Linked DNA regions of Homo sapiens: region 2 is linked to region 1. Evidence: promoter capture Hi-C in 16 types of primary human blood cells and fetal thymus (Javierre and others, 2016). All regions are on one chromosome and are shown on one strand. Each heading gives the region's core, a stretch centred on a gene start or on the middle of the fragment in contact. The rest is flanking DNA. Distances are from core to core; before and after follow the strand shown.

Region 1 (4,461 bases), core at 669-3,168:
AATCTCTGGCTCCCAGGTTCAACCGATTCTTCTGCCTCAGCCTCCCAAGTAACTGGGATTACAGGCACTACCACCACATCAGGCTAGTTTTTGTATTTTTAGTAGAGATGGGGTTTCACCATGTTAGCCAGGCTGGTCTTGAACTCTTGACCTCAGGTGATCCGCCTGCCTCAGCGTCCCAAGTGCTGGGATTACAGGTGTGAGCCACCTCACCTGACCCGTCCCACCCTCTTCTAACTAATAAATTTTTAAATTTTCTAGTCATGAAAATGTGTTGGAGGAGCAACAACTTGGACTGAGAGAGATGGTTGATAACCTCTGTGCCAAGGACATTGAGCCTTATCCATTCCCAACGTCACAGTGCTTTCCAGCAAATTCTTAAACCACTCTAAGAACAGTGAATATTCATTTGTCAACCCCTGTGTGCAAGTGCCCAGAGGAGCTTTCATAACCATTTACACTGCCTAGACCAGGTGTACAATTTGTGTCTCTTCCCTGTGCTGGCCTTTAAAGTCACCTCTGGTTCAGTCCTCTCCTGTGCCTCCTTATCCAAAGTCATGGAATAATCTAACGAGGAGAGATGACAGTTATTGGCACTTTTACCAAGTGCCAGACACTGTGCTTCCCTCCTTCTCTTACTGAATCCTCACAACCCTGCAAGGTAGGTTCTGTTTTACAGATGAGGAAACCAGAGCTCAGATAAGTTAAGCAGTGCATCCAAGTTTATAAAACTAGCAACGTGAGACACCAAGATTCAAACCCAGGTCCACCTGTCTCCAAATCCCATGTTCTTGTCTCTCTACCATGCTGACCCCCTGGAAGAGAAGCACATTCTACTTTCACCCTTGACCTGCTGCCTTCTGGCACCTTACCTAACCTAGAGCCCTTGGATCCAGCAGATGGACAGGGAAATTATGGCTAAAGGAGGTGGGCACTTTGCTACAATGGTTTGGGTTTCATACCTGTAGAGAGAAAGAATTACACCTGTGGATAGAAAGATGGATGGATATAGAAGCTAAATACAAGAGAAGACGATCGTGGATGGTTGTCTTCCATGTAGGGTACCAATGGAGAAAAGACAGACTTTTCAAGTAGTATTGGGAAAACTGGATATCCATATGTGAAAGGATAAAGTTTGCTGGTGTTGAACTCTATTTTTCGAGAAGGAAAATGAAAGTGCTCTTGTTTGGCATGTAACTGGAAGGGGATTTTCCGTCTTTCAGAAAAGGAAAGTCTATGTGGGCATCTTAGTAATGTAGCTATGAAAGAACTCTATCCATCTTAGACAATCTCTAGGAGTTGGAAATTTGAAAAAAGTTCCTAGATGTTCTACTAGAGAGAGGTCCTCCTTCTTCCGCCTTCCCCCATCATTGCTCCTTTCTTACCTTGAAGCAGAAAACCGAGAAGGAGGTAGAAGGAAAATCTTTTCCTGTGGAACCAGCTTCCTTCCATCTTCTTTGTCTAAGTTCTTCTCTGAACATGTACTGGGACCCAGGAATGCCCAGATTAAAGCAGCACAGGCCACACCTAGAGTCTGACTTTGAATACTAATAGCATTGGTTGACCACTGACATTTGTAACCTTCCTTCAAAGAGTGTTCTGGTTGTCTTGTTCTTGCCTATGCTTAAGGTTCAGTCTGCTTTTAAGACTTTATCTTAGTCTTAGGTATTTCACTGCAACGTAAATGGTTATAGATAGTTCATACGTGATCAACTTGCAGATCTTGGTGAGATCCCTTGGTCTGAAGACTCATCTCTTCAATTTTGGAAAATTCTCAGACATTTATAAATGTTTCACTTCCTCTATTTTTCTTATTAGACATGTGTTGAATGGTTTCCTTCTATCTTACATGCCTTTTATTGCTGTTGTAACAAATCACAAACCCAGTGGCTTAAATAAACACAATTTGTTATTTTACTGTTCTGTGGGCCAGAAGTTTGAAATGGGTCTCACTGGGCTAAAATGAATGTGTCAGCAGGACCGCATTCCCTCTGGAGGCTCTAGAGGAGAATCCATTTCCTTGCCTTTTCCAGATTTTTTTTTTTTTGAGACAGGGTTTCACTCTGTTGACCAGGCTGGAGTGCAGTGGCGCAATCGCGACTCACTGCAGCCTTGACCTCCTGGGCTCAAGGGATCTTTCCGTCTCAGCCTCCCAAGTAGCTGGGACCTCACAGGTGTGAGCCACCAAGCTTGGCTATTTTTTTTTTTTTTAGTAGAAATGAGGTCTCGCTTTGTTGCCTAGGCTTGTCTCCAACTCCTGGCCTCAAGTGATCCTCCAACCTTGATCTCCCAAAGTGCTGGGATTATAGACATGAGCCATTGTACCCGGCCTTTTCCAGCTTTTAAACTGCCTGTATTTCTTGGTTCATTATTTTTACTTCTCCATCTTCAAAACCAGCAACATCAGGCCAATGTTTCTCACAAGGCATCTCATCTCTCTGGTTCTTATTTGTTTCTCTCTCCTTCTTCCACTTATAAGAGCCTTTGTGATTGCATTGTGTCCATTTGGATAATCCAGGATAGTCTCCCCATCTCAAAGTCCGATAATTAACAACCTTAATTCCATCTGCAACCTTAACTCCCCTTTTCCATATAACCTAAGGTTCCAGAGATTAGGATGTGGACAAATTCTGGGGGCCGTTATTCTGCCTAGCACACCTCTCTTTCCTATTTTCTACCTCTTTATCTCTGTCCCTAATGATTTCTTCAGATCTAGCTTCCAGGAAAAAAATTCTCTCCTCAACTGTGTTTATTTTAATTAATTAATTAATTAATTTTTGATGAAACTCAGTAATTTTTATTGCAACTGGAAGACAATACATTGCAGAAACTTTATGGTAGGTCTGGGGAAAAGTGTTATTTACAATAGATTATGACATAATTTGTCTTTGACAATATGATTACATACGAAGAATGCAAAATGCAAGTATGGATGCCTTCCATATTTTATTTTATTTTGAGATGGAGTCTCATTCTGTTGCCCAGGCTAGAGTGCAGTGGCGTGATCTTGGCTCACTACAGCCTCCACCTCCTTGATTTGAGCGATTCTCCTGTCTCAGCCTCCTGAGTAGTTGGGACTACAGGCTTGTGCCACCACACCCAGCTAATTTTTGTATTTTTATTAGAGACAGGGTTTCACCATGTTGTCCAGGCTGGTCTTGAACTCCTCACCTCAGCTGATCTGCCCACCTCGGCCTTCCAAAGTGCTGGGATTACAGGAGTGAGCCACTGTGCTTGACCCTCAACTGTGTCTAATCTGTCCATCTAATCTGCCCACTGAGTTTTGGTTTTGTTTTTTTGTTTTTTTGTTTTTTAGAGAGAGGGTTTCACTGTCTCCCACCATGCCTGGCCCTCAACTGTGAGCCACCATGCTGGGATTACAGACGTGAGCCACCGTGCCCGGCCCTCAGCTGTGTCTAATCTGTCCACTGAGTTTTGCTTTTTGTTTTGTTTTGTTTTTTTTAGAGACAGGGTCTCACTGTCTCCCAGGCTGGAGTACAGTGGTATGATCATAGCTCACTGTAGCCTTGAACTCCAGGGCTCAAGCAATCCTGCCACCTCAGCCTCCCAAGTAGCTGGGACTACAGGTGCATGCCACCATGTGTGGCTAATTTTTTTTTATTGTTTCTAGAGACAGGGCCTTGCTATGCTGCCCAGGCTGGTGTTGAACTCCTGGCCTCAAGCAATCCTCCTGCCTCAGCCTCCCAAATCACTGGAATTTACAGGTATGAACCACTATGGCTAACCTTTTACCCATTTTTAAATCAAGTTGTTTTTTGTTGTTGAGTTTCAGGAATTCTATGTATAGTTTGGATATTAATCCCTTATCAGCTATATAATTTGCAAATGTTTTCTCCCATTTTGTGGGTTGTCTTCTTTCCTCTGTTAATAGTGTCTTTTGATTCATAGATGTTTAATATTTTCATGAAGTACTATTTGTCTATTTTTTCTTTTGTTGCCTATGCCTTTGTGTCATATCCAAGAAATCACTGCTAACTCCAATGTTTTGAAGCTTTTTCCCTATGTGTTCTTTTAGGAGTTTTATTGTTTTAGGTCTACACTTAAATCTTCTTTTTTTTTTTTGAGACGGAGTTTCACTCTTGTTGCTCAGGCTGAGTGCAATGGCATGATCTCAGCTCACTGCAACCTCCACCTCCTGGGTTCAAGTGATTCTCCTGCCTTAGCCTCTCAAGTAGCTGGGATTACAGGCATGTGCCACTACCCCCAGCTAATTCTGTATTTTTAGTAGAGACGGGGTTTCTCCATGTTGGTCAGGCTGGACTCGAACTCCCCACCTCAGGTGATCTGCCCGCCTCAGCCTCCCAAAGTGCTGGGATTACAGGAGTGAGCCACCGCGTCCAGCCCTACATGTAAAATATTTTATCCATTTTGAGTTAATTTTGGTATATGGTTTTAGGTAAGGGTCAAACTTCATTTCTTTGCATATGGATATCCAGTTTT
Region 2 (3,714 bases), core at 800-3,299, 38 kb before region 1:
GTTATTTCCTCTCCATACCTTGACCCCTTGTCCCTAAACATCAATTTGAACTCAAAATCCTGCTGAAGCCTAGGGTACACAAAGTAGCCTGGGAACACGCTTCACGTCAGCTTTCCCCTTCTGCAATCCATATAACATTTAGGAACTGTCTGATGGAGACCATGCTAATGTCCTAGTCTTTACATCCTGGACTTCCATAAGCAATGCGATTCCCTAGTTTTCAAGATTTCAACAAACATGTAAGTGCTCACTATATGCTTGGGACTGAGCTAGGCAGTGGGAATACAAAGATGACAAGGAGCTCATTTATATCCTTGAAGGTGAGAACAAACAAGATTTAGAAACTCAGTGGGAAAACAAAGATGTTATCATTGTAACTTCCATACTGAAGCCATTAAATAAAAGCAAAGTCCACTGGCACCAAACTTTATAATGAGATTCAGAAAAAACCCAAGTTTATTCTTTAATCTTTGTCACAGAAAACCCAAGACAGACAGATACAAAGTTTCAGCTGCTCACCTCCTGATAAGTGTAGAAAATACCCTTAGAACTTACAATGACATCTAAGTAGACACATTTTTCCCCTCTCACATTTCCCCTTAGTTACATTCATCCTGAAAAAACTGGAAAAAGATGGCGAAACATGGAAAGAAAAGTTGCAGGGCCTTACAGTAAATGTTCTTTGATTTGAGCAGCTTTCCAGCAACAAAAGACAAATGTTTCCTGTACACCTGTGGCAGTCAGGAATTCCAGAGTGTAGTCAATTAATGCCACATTGGCCAGGGGCAAGAGGACCTGAAGGATACAAGATGAAAAAAAACTTGAGGTCTCGAATCCCTTTGGGTACCCCACTGCAACAATTTTCACTCCTCTATTCGTATTTCCAAACAGTGTAATTTTGCTGTATCTTTCCAATTCAAAGATAAACAGGTTCCTGCCTTTGATGTTCATGCCATGCTCTAAGCCTGAGTCTGAGACATTGCAATTTGGGGATGGTAAGTACAGAATCTATGTGCCTTGTATCAGACACAGAGCTGTGACAGAATGGCAGTTCACTGCTGGCAAAGGATAATACTGGAAATCAATCATATTTCCATAAATTTAAGCATTGCTAAGGCCTTCTTCCCCATAAGATTTCCTTCCTTGATCCCTTTCTAAGTGTCAGAGGTTAGCCATCTCCCGTCACTTGTCAAAAATGAACAGCCATTAGGCTTTTTCGAGGGAATTAGAGAGGATTTTCCTTAAATCCAATGCAGTTCCCTCTTTCTGAACTGACTGCTGAACGACCCAGCTGAGTCCAATACCCCATTGTCTAGACAACTCGGGGGCTGATGGCAATCAACCACTAAACCCATTTTGTCCTTTCGACAGATAGCACCGGCTATCATTAGAACCTGGAAGGAAAAAAAAAATACACTGCCTGAGATCTAGCCCGCTCTTTTTAAGGCATATTACCGCCCTTTCAGAGGCAAAAGGTCGTTTCTTTTCACCTAAGCAACCGTCATCGGCAAGGTTAAAAGCGGCGCAGCCTCTTCTAGGGGCACTGAATCCCCGCGTGAAGGCTTCTCTCAAGCGCTGTTTCTACATTTAGCTCTCTTCATTCCTTTCAAACCCGAGGTGGACAGCATTACGAATGCCCAAATCTGCCGGCCACTAACTTGGTCAGCAGTCATCAGGGTTTAGACAGTCCCTCTGCATCCGGTTTTAGGATAACAGCATAGACGCAGGTCCTTCAAGGGCATGCTGTTGTAGTTAGCCGAAATGAGAACTTGCTCCAGCCCTGCCACCCTTCCTGCCCTCTGGCTGCTCGCGTGCGCGGCGCTCACCCGAGGCTGGTCCTTGGAGATGGGGAAGAAGCGGCGATCGAAGCTATCGGCCACCAGAACTGCTTGTAGGGGCGGCGGCGGTTCCTCCTCCGCCCCTCTGGCTCCCCCGCCACCGCTGCCTCCCGGCCCCGCGCCGCTGCGCTTGTTAGCCCGACTAACCACCACACCAGGCGGCGCCACTACAGGGGCCGCCATCTTCTTCTCTCACGGTCACCACTTCCGCAAGGAAGCTGCCACCGCACGCAGTAGGGGACAAAAAGGATCCAGCACTTGAAATGCGATGGACTAATTAACGAAGGGAAGGAGACGAGGAGGGAGCAGTGCGCATGCGTCTTCCCCGGGAGCCCACAGGGGTCTGAGGTTGATCCCGGAGGCGCGAGGAGTCGGTACGGGTCACGGTTGTCCCGGCCCCTGAGGCGCAGGGTAGGAGTGGGGTCCCATAGATGTCAGACTCGGTCTGCAAGTATCGTCGGCCTTCATTTGTAGGTGAACAAGCCGAGATTCTTGTGGCGTGATAGGACTTGTGGTCGCCACGAAGGGGCCAGCTCCATCGGGAATCTGTAATCGCCCAGCAGTTTCCCCGCCCCGCGCATGTGAAATATGTAGCCCTCCGTATTCATTCTAGAAACTTCTGGGAACCCAGCGCCTTGGGGAGATAGAACCGAGCCAGATGTTCCCCCGCTGCGAGGAACTCAGAACCTGCATAAATAGAGAAGGTGGCAGGCATATAGTAGGGAGACCAGTAATTCCATTGAGCGCTGATTTTGGGCCAGGCACGATACAAGCATTATCTCTGCAAAACATCTTATTCATTCGTTCAGCAAACGTTTCTTGAACTCTCAGAAGGATGAAGGAAGTTTACCCAGCTAGTAAGTGGAAGAACTGGTATTGGAACCCGATCTGTCTGACTGCAGAGTTCCACAATCTTGCTGCCAAGTTATGTGGGGATAACAATGACTATTTTATGTCATCTATTCATTCTTCCAGCCTATCAGCCTCCTGTGTCTTAAGCAGAGTGGAGACGGGGGTGGATCCAGGCGCACCAGTAAGTTGTACTGGAGTTAAGCAGTAAGCTTTCTGGGCAGAGGAAAGTGCGGGCGTAAAGGTCCAAGGCTTGAAAAGGCGCAGCAGCACCTTTTTCTCTTTGGGGAAAGAAGCGGTGGCTGCGGGGAATAAACCAACTCTGTAGAGGGGCGGGGCCGTGGGAAAGCGGTGGAACGGGGCAGGAAGGCTGGGCGTCATTTGGGAGGCAAGGAACTTTTCTGTAAGGCATAGCGCCCTTTCTGCACGGGACCTGTCCAGGTTCCACGCCACAGGCTTCTGCAGTTCCTGCAAACTGTTCCCATCCCGCCCCGCGTTGCACGTCGGGATTTGGAGTTCGCGATGCTGAGAGCTGTTTCCACGTGGCGATTCCGACTTGACCCGTCGTGCTCCGGCGCCCGCCTAGGGGGACCGAGGAGTTTGTCATTTCTTGCCTCGTTAGGGTGCGGAACGAAAACCATTTGATTTATCCTAGAAAAGGAAAGGCTGAAGCCAACTAAGTAAAAGTTTTCCATTAAATGAATGCACGTTGTAGAAAAGGAATGTTCAACTGCCCTACAAATCCAGAGGTAGAAATGGGGGAGGGGAGAAGGAATTAAATAGGACACACACACACACACACAAACACACACACACACACACTCTTGGGGGGGTGTTTGGGTATGGAAAGTAGGTCCGATTGCAGAATTTATTTTAAATGATTCCCGCAACCTTGGGAAGTTGGGAAGTGGTGAATCCGCTGCCGAAAGGCATTTGTGCTTATGGTAAATCCAGGTCTTAAAATTCTGTAGACTGGTAGCTATATGGATATGATTTTAATAGACGAGTTTCAGGAAGACTCTCTCAA

What was found. The method cuts DNA at HindIII sites, captures the fragments that hold promoters and counts their contacts. A CHiCAGO score of 5 or more calls a contact.
Region 2: the fragment with the promoter of EIF2B5 here is called in contact with the fragment with the promoter of HTR3E in region 1 in 1 of 17 cell types (neutrophils); the score reaches 5.2 in neutrophils.

What each region holds. Positions count from the first base shown.
Region 1 is chr3:184,094,521-184,098,981 of GRCh38, reverse strand. It overlaps HTR3E (5-hydroxytryptamine receptor 3E), which reads right to left and starts at 1,918. Exons shown (of 9, transcript NM_001256613.2): 1 at 1,386-1,918. The coding sequence starts at 1,452. It overlaps HTR3E-AS1 (HTR3E antisense RNA 1), which reads left to right. Exons shown (of 3, transcript NR_133658.1): 3 at 3,632-3,864. The HindIII fragment of the contact is 4,461 bases long and covers 1-2,191 here.
Region 2 is chr3:184,133,693-184,137,406 of GRCh38, reverse strand. It overlaps EIF2B5 (eukaryotic translation initiation factor 2B subunit epsilon), which reads right to left and starts at 2,049. Exons shown (of 16, transcript NM_003907.3): 1 at 1,827-2,049; 2 at 671-795. The coding sequence starts at 2,021. EIF2B5-DT (EIF2B5 divergent transcript) reads left to right here and starts at 2,146. Exons shown (of 2, transcript NR_183721.1): 1 at 2,146-2,871; 2 at 3,129-3,714. RefSeq lists enhancers at 1,700-1,769, 2,090-2,149, 3,019-3,660 and a silencer at 1,840-1,949. The HindIII fragment of the contact is 10,653 bases long and covers 1-2,901 here.